Regions from separate parts of the Homo sapiens genome. Here all the other regions are linked to region 4. Evidence: promoter capture Hi-C in 16 types of primary human blood cells and fetal thymus (Javierre and others, 2016). All regions are on one chromosome and are shown on one strand. The core of a region is centred on a gene start or on the middle of the fragment in contact, and the rest is flanking DNA. Distances in the headings are between cores, read along the strand shown. Region 1 has its middle 21 kb from the start of KEL. Region 2 has its middle 26 kb from the start of OR9A2. Region 3 has its middle 9.6 kb from the start of OR6V1. Region 4 holds the start of TAS2R39 (taste 2 receptor member 39). Region 5 overlaps KEL (Kell metallo-endopeptidase (Kell blood group)).

What was found. Contacts are between HindIII fragments. The CHiCAGO score rates a contact against its expected background, and 5 or more counts as called.
Region 1: a fragment that was not itself captured here is called in contact with the fragment with the promoter of TAS2R39 in region 4 in 2 of 17 cell types (monocytes and neutrophils); the score reaches 5.5 in monocytes.
Region 2: a contact is called between a fragment that was not itself captured here and the fragment with the promoter of TAS2R39 in region 4, in 7 of 17 cell types (total B cells, naive B cells, M2 macrophages and 4 more). The highest score is 10.4, in total B cells.
Region 3: a fragment that was not itself captured here is called in contact with the fragment with the promoter of TAS2R39 in region 4 in 4 of 17 cell types (naive B cells, neutrophils, total B cells and 1 more); the score reaches 6.5 in naive B cells.
Region 5: a contact is called between a fragment that was not itself captured here and the fragment with the promoter of TAS2R39 in region 4, in 1 of 17 cell types (monocytes). The highest score is 5.1, in monocytes.

What each region holds. Positions count from the first base shown.
Region 1 is chr7:142,982,002-142,984,758 of GRCh38, forward strand. No RefSeq gene overlaps it. Among named protein-coding and RNA genes, the nearest start is that of KEL, 21 kb to the left of the region's middle. The HindIII fragment of the contact is 1,891 bases long and covers 487-2,377 here.
Region 2 is chr7:142,999,536-143,002,235 of GRCh38, forward strand. No RefSeq gene overlaps it. Among named protein-coding and RNA genes, the nearest start is that of OR9A2, 26 kb to the right of the region's middle. The HindIII fragment of the contact is 1,734 bases long and covers 475-2,208 here.
Region 3 is chr7:143,041,389-143,044,088 of GRCh38, forward strand. No RefSeq gene overlaps it. Among named protein-coding and RNA genes, the nearest start is that of OR6V1, 9.6 kb to the right of the region's middle. The HindIII fragment of the contact is 4,130 bases long and covers 1-2,700 here.
Region 4 is chr7:143,182,091-143,184,790 of GRCh38, forward strand. It overlaps TAS2R39 (taste 2 receptor member 39), which reads left to right and starts at 1,329. Exons shown (of 1, transcript NM_176881.2): 1 at 1,329-2,345. The coding sequence starts at 1,329. The coding sequence ends at 2,345. The HindIII fragment of the contact is 8,536 bases long and covers 1-2,700 here.
Region 5 is chr7:142,956,408-142,959,107 of GRCh38, forward strand. KEL (Kell metallo-endopeptidase (Kell blood group)) reads right to left here. Exons shown (of 19, transcript NM_000420.3): 5 at 1,897-2,021; 6 at 1,420-1,566. Among named protein-coding and RNA genes, the nearest start is that of KEL, 4.6 kb to the right of the region's middle. RefSeq lists an enhancer at 1,371-2,086. The HindIII fragment of the contact is 585 bases long and covers 980-1,564 here.

The DNA.
Region 1 (2,757 bases), core at 182-2,681, 200 kb before region 4:
TTGTCTTTTTTTGTTTTTGTTGGTTTAAAGTCTGTTTTGTCAGAAACAAGGATTGCAATCCCTGTTTTTTTCTGTTTTCCATTGTCTTGGTAGACTTTTCTCCATCCCTTTATTTTGAGCCTATGTATGTCATTGCATGTAAAATGGGTCTCTTGAAGACAGCATACCAATGGGTCATAGTTCTTTTATCCAGCTTCCAGTCTTTTAATTAGGGTATTTAGCCCATTTACTTTTAAGGTTAATGTTGATATGTATGAATTTGATCCTTCCATCATGATGTTAGTTGATTATTTTGCTGACTTGTTTATGTGGTTGCTTTATAGTGTCACTGGTCTGTGTACTTCATTGTGTTTTGTAGGGGCTGGCAACAGTCTTTCCTTTCCATATTTAGTGCTTCCTTCAGGAGCTCTTGTAAGTCACATCTGTTGGTAACAAATTCCCTCAGCATTTGCTTGTCTGGAAAGGATCTTATTTCTCTGCTTATGAAGCTTAGTTTAGCCAGATATGACATTCTGGTTTGGAATTTCTTGCCCCCAATCTCCTCTGGCTTGTAAAGTTTCTGCTGAGAGGTTCACTGTTTTGTTTTGTTTTGTTTTTGAGATGGAGTCTTGCTCTGTTGCCCAGGCTGGAGTGCAGTGGTGCAATCTCGGCTCACTGCAGCCTCTGCCCCCCCAGGTTCCAGTGATTCTCCTGCCTCAGCCTCTTGGGTAGCTAGGATTACAGGTGCACACCACCATGCCCAGCTAAATTTTATATTTTTAGTAGAGATGGGGTTTTGCCATGTTGGCCAGGCTGCTCTTGAACTCCGGACCTCAGGTAATCCACCTGCCTTGGCCTCCCAAAGTGCTGGGATTACAGGCATGAGCCACCGCACCCAGCCAAGAGGTCCACTGTTAGTCTGATGGGATTCACTTTGTAGGTGACCTGACCTTTCTCTATAGCTGCCTTTAACATTTTGACCTTGGAGAATCTGATGATTACACGTCTTGGGGATGTTCTTCTTGAGTAGCATCTTACTGGAGTTTTCTGCATTTCCTGAATTTGAATGTTGGCCTCTCTAGCTAGGTTGGAGAAGTTCTCAAGGATTATATCCTGAAATACATTGTCTAAGTTGGTTCCATTCTCCCCAGTGTCTTTCAGGGACAATGATGAGTTACTCAATCTCTTTACGTAATCTTATATTTCTCAGAGGTTTTGTTCATTCCTTTTCATTCTTTTTTCTCCATTTTTGTCTGACTATCTTATTTCAGAAAGCCAGTCTTCAAGTTCTGAGATTCTTTCTTCCACATGGTCTATTCTTCTACTAATACTTGTGATTACATTATGAAATTCTCATAGTGTGTTTTTCAGCTCTATCAGCTTAGTTATATTCTTTTCTATACTGGCTATTTTGTCTGTCAGCTCCTGCATTGTTTTATCATGGTTTTCAGCTTCCTTGAATTGGGTTTCAACATATTCTTGTATCTCAATGATCTTCATTTCTATCCATATTCTGAATTCTATTTCTGTCATTTCATCCATGGCAGCCCAGTTCAGAATGCTTGCTGGAGAGGTGATGTGGTCATTTGGAGGAAAGAAGGGACTGCAGTTTTTCTTTTATTTTTATTCAAGTTTTGAGTGTTCTTCCATCAGGTTTTTTTTCTCATCTTTGTGGGCTTATCTACCTTCAATCTTTGAGGTTGTTGACCTTTGGATTTTTTTTTTTTTAAAACCTATTTGATGACCTTGAGGGTCTGATTGTGGTATAAGGTGGGTTCAGTGAACTAGCTTCATTTCTGAAGGATTTTAGGAAGCCAATGCTTAGCTCCAACTCCTATACTGTGTTCTCTAACTGGAGGACTTGCATTAGGCCCCAGTTTTGTTCTCTGGCTCTTTGAGGCATGGCATGCAGTGTGCTGGTGGTGGGGGTAGTGCAGTGAGGTGCAGCAGCTGTGGCAGAGTGCTAGTGGGTGCCAAGTGCCTGCCTCCTTGCAGTTGTTCACCACAGTGACAGAGGCAATGCAGCTGGGGTGGGGGACAGTGGGGTGAGGCACCCTGCTGGACACTGTGTATAGTTGCACTGGAGGTAGTGTTGGGTCTGGTGTGGGGTGTTGGCTGGTGCAGGGTGCCTTCTCTATGCCCCACAAGCAGGAGTGATTGTTCAGGGTGGAGGAGGATGTGCTGTTCTCTGCACAGTGTTAGTTCGGGGCCAGGCACTGGCAGGGGTGGGGCTTCTGACTCTGTGCCCACCAAGGTTCCATCTGCAATGGCAGCCTGCAAAGGGAAGTAGAGCAGACTGCTCTCCCCTCCACTGACAGGGCAAAGAAAACAAACCCCTTCCACTCATGTTGGCATGTGCCAGCAAAGTGATGTGGGGAGTTGCTATGTGCCTGGAGGAAGCTTCAGTATGGGAGGGAATGGTAGGCTTGTGTGTGGCCATGGAGCCACCCAGCTGGAGCTGTCCACTGATGAGGCACAGTCCACCAGCACAGAAGCTATTGTGGTGGGCCCCCAGGGCACTGGAGATTGCCCTGCAAGAAGGTGTGGCCTGGCTAGGGCCCTAGGAGAGGCCAGTAGACCAAGGGGTGTTCAGGTTGGACCAGCCTGGTCTGATGGGCAAGACCATCCTGAAAGATCAGGTCCGACAGTTCCCCTAGGGTTAAAGTCTCCTATGGGAGCAAGTCAGGCCTGGGGGATGGCCATCCCTGGAGGTGCACCACTGCAGACACTCCCACATCAAACCCTCAGGCTCCACATCAGCTGGCTTGCTGCCTGTAC
Region 2 (2,700 bases), core at 92-2,591, 180 kb before region 4:
CAGTTAAGCATTTAAAAATATACTCCAAAACACCACCAACCTGAAATGTGTTATTCCATTTTCCAGAGACTCTAAGTTTTAGACTTAATCATCAAAAGTTTTTATATTTTATTTAAATGTTAGGCATGAAAATCAGTCTTAATAGATTCTATTGAGCATACCTGAATGTCTTCTTGGTTTCTCAAGACGATCATTAGGATGCCACTGTCATATATACATGATCTCAGAGAAGGTTTGCTCCTGCACTAAATGAACAAAAATGTCTTAAGTCCTTTGGTCAGCTTTGTACAGTTGGTTTTTAATTTCTCTCAACATGTCTCTTGATTGAGAGCTAACACACTGCTTGTTGTTTTCAGTAGACCTGTCTTTTCTTATCTCCTTTCTATGAGTAAATCATTTTATCAAGCTTATTTCCAATAAATAAACAAACAGATAAAAGGGACTCTAACAGACTTCCTGTGAGTAAAGTGGCTAAGCTTTATGTGGTTCATGGACTTTGTAACATTTATTTTGTCTGCTTGCTGGTTTATTTTGCTATTTTCTGATTCCTAGCTATGTTCTAGAAAGACTACATAGTTGAGTTTTGGATTAATAAGATATATATGTTAATTATAACACTTAGAGAATCAGGATCATATAGTACCCCAAATACAGATGTTTTTAAAAGTGCCAGAATATCAAAAGAAGATATAACTATATTCAAATATTAAAGCATCAAAGCATAATATACTTCCATGGTTCAAAATTTTAAAGGATACTTTGAAACACTTTTCTATCTGATCCTCCTCCCTCAAGGCAACCAATGTTATCACTTTCTTCTGTGTCTTTACAGAGGTAATTTTAAGCATATACGTCTGCATAAGCAAATGCATACAAGCACATTTTCTTTTTGTACAAATGGTAGTATATCGAACATATGTCCTATGCAGTACAGATCATTGTATATTTATACATAAGACATTCTTGGTTCTTGTTTCCTTTTTTAATAACTCCAGATTATTCCACCAAATGGAATACATACATTATTTCCCTGTACACAATATCTAAATGACAATTTCTAGAAGAGGAATTGCTAGGCCAAAGCGTAAAAGCATTTGTCACTTTAATATATATTACATAATTGCCCTTCATGCAGGCTATTACATTTTACACTACCTATTTTCACGCAGTGTACTATAAAACTTTTTGACATTTGCCAGTTTAATAACTGAAAATAGTATCTTAATATGGCTTTAATTTTTATTGTTCTCCTTATGAATGAAGATGAAAATATTCTCACATGTGCTTATCTTTTGCCCATTTTTCTGCTGAGTAGTTTTATTTTTTTCTTATAGGAGCTTTTTACACATGATGCAAACTAACCTTTTGTGATATGAGTTGAAATTGTTTTCTGGTGTTTTCGTGTGTCTGTTTACCTTGGGGTAGTATTAACCATAGCAAATTTTTAAAAAATTCTTCATAAAGTCAATCTTCTATGACATCTGTGTTTTAAGTCATCCTAAGAAAGGTCTTACCCATTTTTATAAACATTCTTTTATTTCTTATGTTAAATCTATGTTTTTTTTTTACATTTAAATATTTGACCCATTTTAAACAGCCTGGTATGACATAGGCAGTAATGGAATTAACTTTTGTTTTTTAGGTAGCTGCTAGTTTGTTTGACCATTTATTGAATAATTCATTTTTTCCCAATGATAGTACTGTTTACATTATAGCTATATAGTCTGTTTTACAGATGTAGTTATTCCTCATTATGCTTCTATTTCAGAATGTTTTTGAAAATTTTTTGCTTGTTTATTTTTCCATAATAAAAAGTTTAATCTAAGCTGGGCACGATGGCTCACATGTGTAATCCCAGCTATTCAGGCGGCTGAGGTGGGAGGATCACTTGAGTCCAGCAGTTCAAGTCTGTAGTGAGCTATGATCATGCCACTACACTCCAGCCTGGCTGACAGAGCAAGACTCTGTCTCTAAAAATATAAATGAATGAAATAATGCATGAATAAAATGTAATCTGCTTCTCTAGATTTAAAAAATACTATTGATTTTTAAATTGTGATTGTATCATTTTTATGGATACACTTAGAGGAGAATTGATATCTTTGTATTGTTTACTCCACCTTTCCATTTGCTCAAATCTACTTTTGTGTCTTTCAGGAGCATTTTTTTAAATGTCAATCTAGTTTAAATGTAAATCTTTACTTGTTAAGCTTATTCCTAATAATGTTATATTTCTTTGCTTTTGCTTTTGTAAATGAGGTTCTTTCCTTCCATTATATTTTCTAACTTAATGTGTTTTATATGTGAAGTCTTTTGACTCTCAATATAAATTTTGTGCCCAGCCACATTGGTTTTTTACTTTATTTTGTTGAGATTTCCAGATAAACAAATTATTTAAAATTCATGTTAATCTTTTTTTCTCCTCCTTTTTAACATCTTGGCCCTGCATTTTTTTTCTCTTGTCTAATTGCATAGGCTAACATGCCAGAAATTTTAATTAGTTTACATAGAGATGCAGTACATAAATTTAAATTGAAGATCTGTCATTACATAAGACAAAGGGTATGTGTGTTATTATTTATTTTAGATTGGTCCATCCTCTCACCAGGAGCTCAGGCAGCTGTTAAACTCTGGAAAGAGGGCCTAAAAAAGATAGGGGTATGGATAATGGAAGCCCTGCATAAATTCTAAGCAAAGTGG
Region 3 (2,700 bases), core at 104-2,603, 140 kb before region 4:
CTGTATAGGGAGAAACAGTAAGTCTCTTCATCACAGACTCAATGAAAGTTGCTGACAGATTCTAACTTGTGGAGTCACTTGCAAAGCAGGGCCAGGGTTGCTTGCCCCATTCCCAAGGGGCTTATGTCTCCGTGTCAAAATCTGGGTACCACAGTCAGGAAGCCGCCGAAGTAAATGACCTAATAAGAAAAGCTCGCCATGCTGGACTTATGAATTAAGATGCATTGGCTGGGTCTGGAGAATGAATGAGTTATAAGGATTCGGTTTCGGTTAGTCAAGATGAGTTTAGACTTGGCATTAAGATTAGTGAGAGGGTTGCATGCTTACTGCTTAGGGAGATAGATCCACTTCTGTGATTAGATGTCATTGCTGATGGCCAGGATACAGTTCTAGGAAATACCTGTGGTTCCAGAGAGACAGCTAACATGTGTCTTCTCAGGGCTTCATTTGTGTGCTCTCATTTCTGATTTTATTTACTACTTATGGATCTCTAAAGGTATTCATTCAGTTAACTATAATTAAAGTGTGCAGCCAGCACACTGCTGGACCCATACATAGATGCATCAACACACACACACACACACACACACACACGCACACACACAAACCCATCACCTTCACGTTAAAGAAGTGTGGTTGGCGGTTGGGTTAGAAGGGGAGATGATGAGAATGAAGTTTCCATGCCAATAACAACAGCGGAAACTGCTGTTATTGAACTCTTCCTATGTGGCAGCCATAATCCAATTTGATGCTCACGCTAGCTCTACTATTTTTTATCTTACATCTGGGGAAAATTCCACTCCAAGAGGATTAGTATCAGCCCAAGGTCATACAACTGGCAATTCACAGGGCCAGGATATAAACCTAGACGGTCCAAGGTCTGTGCCGTCAGCCCCCATACAAGAGTGAGTCATGTCAGGGAAGGGTGGTCCACTAGGATAGTCACAGCATTTTAAGAAGCAGAGCTAGAAGTCCAGTGCAATCCACATACCACACACATCTTTCAGGGACTGTCAGAGCAGCAGCATCCAATGGGTCTTGCCTGGATTCCAGAGCTTGAATCTAAATATCTTGATTCCCTTTCTGCCTTCAGCCATTGTAAACATGTAGCAGATGGTCACCCCAAAGGGATCTTATTGTCTCTCTGTTCTGGCTCCCCTTGCTTCCTGAATTGAATGGCTTTGCTGCTGCTGCTGAAAGCTGGAAATATGTGGCTGAGTGAGAGTTCTCAGCAGAGGGGCATCTAGAAAGCCTCACAGGGGTGCTTTAGACTGGCTTCTGTGCTCAGCCTCTGGCCATGCTCAGTCCCGTGTCCTGCCTGCCTTTCCTCCCTCCTTCTGCTCACAATTTCTGCTTTTCTTTGTCACTTCTGCTGCTTCTCTTGGGTTACCTTTTATTCCTTCTAGCTTTCTGTCTGCATTCCTGGGCCTCCTGTGTCTCTCTGTCTCTCACTTTCTCTCCATTACTGCTTTTCTAACACCTCGCCTCTCTGGTTTTGTGTTTCTCGCATCCACACTGGCTCTCTCCTGTGAACCTTGGCCTTTCTTTATCTCTGACCACAAAGGTACATAGGGCTTAACACAGAAACGATGAAAGGAAACTTAAGGGATTAGAATGTAACACTAACAACATCTGCTACAGCAAGGTCACGCTGAAGTCACCAATAACTCAAATCTTTCAACGGCTTTTAACAACTATGTTTGTTTCTCACTCATGCCATGCGCCCATCACTAGCCAGGAAGTAGACTCTGCTCATTATTATACTGTAGGGACTGGAGCAGTAGAAAGCTCCCTTTAAACACATTCTTCCATGATCTCAGATGTGGAGAAAAAGGGAATGTGACTCAAATGCCAACCCTTAAAGCTCTTGCTATGAAGTGACTCTCATTACTTCTACCCATATCTCACTGGCTGAAGAAAATCACTCGACCACTCCTGAATTAATGGAGCAAAAATATGTGATATTCCCACTGGGAGGGTCACCTCCAGGAAGGACAACAAATATGAGTGAACAATTATTTGTCCATTATAAACGTCTGGGTTTCTGTTTGTTTGTTTGTTTTACTTATTCTCTTCCTCATGAATTTTGGGTTTAGCTTATCAAATAATGTAAGTAATTTCAGTTTCACAGTTTCTGTCACTGCTGAGCTACAGAATATCTGAAACAGTCATAGCATTACTATTCTTGGCATGATATAGAGGGAAAGGACAGTGTGTGAAGTGGGTGAAATCAGAGCTTCGGTCTCAGGCCCCAACATGTGATGACTGAGAAACACTGACATTTACTTAAGCTCTGTGAGATTCTACATTGTTATCTAAAAACTGAATATAATAATTCTCCCTCACAGGTTAACTCCAGAATAAATCTGTAGTCATTACATGTGATTTTTTTCTCCTATGTCTCTCATATTCTTCTCATTCAATCAGCAAGATATCTTTTATATAATCAATATAAATCAATAAGCAATGTAATGATATACAAGTTTGGATTATGTTTAGGTTGGTGAGACAAAATGACATAAAAATTAAGAGCAGAGTCTTTGGGATCAGATCTGATTCAAATTCAAACTCTACCATGCAGTAGCTGGTGTTAGTAGCTACTATCAATGTTTTTGTTTGTTTGTTTTGTTTCTTTTCTTTTGAGACAGGGTCTACCTCTGTCACACAGGCTGGAGTGCAGTGGTGCAATCATAGCTCACT
Region 4 (2,700 bases), core at 79-2,578:
GGAAATATTTGTTCAGGAATAGTGATTTTCAAATGAGATGGTAAAATTCGTAACAACTCATCTAAAATCATTAATCAAGCCAGAAAACGTTTATGAGTTCTTGCCTTGTTTTTAAAAGGCTTTAAGTAAAAACCAAATGTTATAAAGATTTTCTGAGACTTCTCACCCACCAACTTTCTCTTTATTAGAATTATTACTTCATCATTATTTTAAAGTTACATACATTCATAAAAATTAATTTACCCTGAAATGAAAAGTCCATTTTATCATTATGTGTCCTATGCTTGCGTTTTAAAATCAGAAAAAAATTCCTTAAGATAAAAGTGATTCTTTTTTCCTTTCTTTTTGTTTTAATATTCCAAAATTGGATGAATTGGGACATTGCTTTTATTCTCAGGTTCGCTAGCTTACCTTGCTAGGAACTAGGGAGTTTTACCTTCAACTCTTATTTTCCTAGTTTTGCTTAAAATGAAAGGTGAATATGTGTGTGTGTGTGTGTGTGTGTATGATCTTTTATGTATAATTAAATTTATTACCTCTCAAGTAATCTACTTTGAAAAGAGAGTCCTATCTCTTAAAAATCAGTGTCTTCTTGCTTTATTGATTTTTCTTTAGAGGGTGGGGACATAAAAGGCTACCAGGAAAAAAATGTCATAGTGGAATCAACCCTGCATTTAGTCTTGGGCACACAAAAGAATCCACAGGTCTAGGTAGCATAACATGGTGGATAAGAGGAGGAACTCTGCGACCAGGTGACTTGGGTTTGAATCCCAGTTCTATCACGCTCTAGTTGTGTGATGTTGGCCAAGTTATTTAACCTCTGTATGCCTTAGTTTCTTCATCTGCAAAATGGAGGTAATAGAAGCACATGCTCATAAGGTTGTTGTGAGGTTTAAATGTAGTAATTATAAATAAATCATTTGAAAATTTCTTAGCACAAAATGAGAAGTGCGTGTGTGTGTGTGTATGTGTGTAGCAGTTTTTATTTTCAATCATTTTCTGCAGTCACAAGTGAAAGTAAGTTAAATGATGACTCAGTTAACCAATGTTCAAATTAACTGATGCTACCAAAGAACACGGACCTCAGTACCATGTTAGCTGCTTTTAAAGAGTCTACTCAAGCGCTTCCCTGGGCCTCATTATTGAACCACTACCAACATGTTCAAAAATAGAGAGAGGATTAGAAACCAAATCCTTCCAACATTTGCATCTCTAGATGTAGAGCTAAGAATTCTGAAATAAACAAATGCAGTGAATTTGGAAATGATACATCAATTGCTTCCTCCTATGACATCAATACTGGGAGTTATCAAGAGTCTGCCCATCAAATGCTAGGGAGATGTTTTCCTCCAGACACCAAAGAGAAGCAACAGCTCAGAATGACTAAACTCTGCGATCCTGCAGAAAGTGAATTGTCGCCATTTCTCATCACCTTAATTTTAGCAGTTTTACTTGCTGAATACCTCATTGGTATCATTGCAAATGGTTTCATCATGGCTATACATGCAGCTGAATGGGTTCAAAATAAGGCAGTTTCCACAAGTGGCAGGATCCTGGTTTTCCTGAGTGTATCCAGAATAGCTCTCCAAAGCCTCATGATGTTAGAAATTACCATCAGCTCAACCTCCCTAAGTTTTTATTCTGAAGACGCTGTATATTATGCATTCAAAATAAGTTTTATATTCTTAAATTTTTGTAGCCTGTGGTTTGCTGCCTGGCTCAGTTTCTTCTACTTTGTGAAGATTGCCAATTTCTCCTACCCCCTTTTCCTCAAACTGAGGTGGAGAATTACTGGATTGATACCCTGGCTTCTGTGGCTGTCCGTGTTTATTTCCTTCAGTCACAGCATGTTCTGCATCAACATCTGCACTGTGTATTGTAACAATTCTTTCCCTATCCACTCCTCCAACTCCACTAAGAAAACATACTTGTCTGAGATCAATGTGGTCGGTCTGGCTTTTTTCTTTAACCTGGGGATTGTGACTCCTCTGATCATGTTCATCCTGACAGCCACCCTGCTGATCCTCTCTCTCAAGAGACACACCCTACACATGGGAAGCAATGCCACAGGGTCCAACGACCCCAGCATGGAGGCTCACATGGGGGCCATCAAAGCTATCAGCTACTTTCTCATTCTCTACATTTTCAATGCAGTTGCTCTGTTTATCTACCTGTCCAACATGTTTGACATCAACAGTCTGTGGAATAATTTGTGCCAGATCATCATGGCTGCCTACCCTGCCAGCCACTCAATTCTACTGATTCAAGATAACCCTGGGCTGAGAAGAGCCTGGAAGCGGCTTCAGCTTCGACTTCATCTTTACCCAAAAGAGTGGACTCTGTGACCAGCACCCAAGAAGACCACAGGACCTGGCCTTACCAGCTCTGCCATTCCCTCACCTAGACCTCTCTTTTCTCTCTTCTTTTCTTCTCCAACCCTCATCTGACCCTTTTCGCCTGATGTGGCTTTTTATATAGGAAATTGATCATTTCTTTTTTGCTTCATGGGTACAATCTTAGTGGTACTGTCATATTCTTTACCTGAGCCCTCTACCTCCCCTTGCTCTGTTTAAAGCAGTGATTCTAAGCACTGGCTACCCATTAGAATCTCTAGGTTGATTTTTGAAAATACCAATGTTCAAACCCAATCTCAGATCTATTAAGTCAGAATTTCTAGTGTTAGAACTCACACAATTTTCT
Region 5 (2,700 bases), core at 22-2,521, 230 kb before region 4:
TGTCATAAGAGTTGGATGGCCTCAGTAGCTCTTTTTTTTTTTTCTATTATGTCAAATGTTTCACCTTCGCCTGGCTTCTTAGAAATAATCAGGCTCAACCTTATGTCTTCAGTCTCACTTTTACCTCCCACTGCACCCCACCTTGCCTCCCAAATCCTCAATTAAATAGATCAGCCTCCTCACTGACTCCACGAAGGAATCACACCATTCCAGGTCCTCCCCCTGGCTCAGCATTTCCAACGCCCCATAGCTTCACCTCCACTTGTGTGAATTAACCATGTTTCAAGGCTGGCTTAGCTCACCTTCTCTCATTCTCTCCTCTCTGAGCCTCTCCTTAACCAGATCTTAACCGGCCCCTAAAGGCCACATCAGTTAAACTCCTGAGCAGACTGTTTAAAACTAAATTTTAGAACACCTCATAATGATAATCAATTCTTCTTTTGTACTTATCCTTTGGTAATTTTGTGGCTCTTTTGACAGTAGGGCCCAAATATGCAGATAGCATTACATTGTTTAACCACAAGAGTGATAGCTCCAGTGTTTTTATTTAGTTACTCACTCACTACAAATACCTGGCAAAACTTCTAGCTGCCTGGCCCTGTGATAGGTCCTGAGAAACAAAGGTGAATAAAGCATGGTCCTGTTCTAAAGAGGCTCACAATCTTCAACACAGAGTGATAAATGCTGAGAGCATGAGGAAACGAAAGTAGGGAGAGCAGGGCTTCACCTAACTCATAACTAGGGTGTCGGTGAAGACTTCCTGGAAGAGATAATAAAGCCAACATTTGAAAAACATGTAAGTTTTCCAGGTTCAGTGTGGGGGATGGTTGCAGGCACAGGGAGCAGCATAGGCAAAGAACTGAGGAATATTCCTGGAAGCAGCAGTGAGTCAGCATGGCTTGGGGGTAAGGGAGAGAAGGAATGTACGGGAGATAAGGCTGGAGAAGTGTGTAGGGGTCAGATCACAAGGTGCTTGCAAAGCTTTACTAAAGATTAGGGACTAGATTCTGATGACCTGGCAAGCCACTGGGTCACTGACAAGCATTTAAATACAGACAGTAGCATAGTTAGTTAGCCCTTGGTTTAGAAAAGTTCCCTCTAGTAAAAATAAAGAGTAAATAAAATGAGGGCAATCCTAGAGATAGGAGGACTGGTTAAGGGGCTCTGAGACTAATCCAGATTAACAGTAAGAAAGACCAGGCCTACTTCTGTCTTCCCAGCACTGGCTCTGCTGCTCCATTTCCCACCCCCAGCTAATGTCCCTGACTTTCACATCAATAATTTTCCCTTAAGGTAGGGTTGTTTCCTATATCACACAGGTGTCCTCTCTTCCCAACCTGCAACCTTCCTCTAAGGGATGATTGGCTAGAGTTGGAGGCAGGCCAGGTCCAACTGTGTCTTCGCCAGTGCATCCCTCACCTGGATGACTGGTGTGTGTGGAGAGGCAGGATGAGGTCCTAGGTAGGCTCTGAAGAAAGGGAAATGGCCATACTGACTCATCAGAAGTCTCAGCGTTCGGTTAAAGTTTAAGGAAGTCCATTTACCAGAGATGCGCCAGCCTCCAAGCTTTAAAGGAGAGAGAGGGGGCTGAGCATAAGGATCCGTGGAGCCCATCCCCCATTGTCTGGATCGGCTCTTACACAGCTGCTACTGCCTGACCTCTGCCCTGCGCCCTTCGATTCCTCTAGGAAGCCACATCTATCCTTTTTTATCTGCCTTCTCCCAAGGTCCTGATACTTTCATAGGGCATAACCATTTCCATCTCCATCTCCCTCCTAGAAATTGGGGGGCCCTAGGAAGAAGACCCACCCTCTAGAAAAAAAAATGGCAGCCCTAAGCATGCATTGGTCCCATATGTTATGTATCCAGAAAAGTTAATATCCCAACTTTTCTCACCTCCTCAATAACTTGTCTGAGGGGACCAGTCCCTGCAGCTTCAATGGCAAGTGTATCCATGCAGGAGTTGTAGAACTGGAAGGCTTTCTCCTCCCCAGAGCCTGGGTGCCAGGAATTCTGGACCTCTAGAAAGGAAGCATGGGAGTGAGGACTAAACTCTGATTTTTTTTATCTTGCCCCAAATTCCTATCAAAGGGGTCTGGGGAGTCATGCCCTATATCATAAGTTCTCATCAGATGGGTTTTATTTAACCCATGTAACATGATTTACTTTCTAACCTGATTCTGGCATAACATTACGAGACAAAGAAGAAAACAAAAATATTTTACCCCAAAACATGTTTCTTTGCCACATTTTGAAATGGCCCTGCAAAGCTGTTCTTTGTGGAGGAAAATTTGCATCTGTAAAGCATCTCTATTAGCTATTAACATATCTCATTAACATAGCTAGATCTTTTGATTAACTAAGATCTGAATAGGAAACATTTGTCACCTATTGTCTCTAAGGGCAGCCACTATAAGACTTCAAAAGAACTTCGGTCTCCGCAATCTTTATCTTACCCTGAACATTCCCTTTCTATCTATCCCAGATCTTTAGACAAACTCAAGCAACTGTCAATCCGGAAATGTTTAAATTCACCTGTACCCTGGAAGCCACCCCCACCCCTTTGAGTTGTTCCACCTTTCTGGACCAAACCAATGTATTTCTTAAATGTATTTGATTGATGTCTCATGACTCTCTAAAATGTATAAAACCAAGCTGTGCCCCAGCCACCTTGGGCACATGTTCTCAGGATCTCCTGAG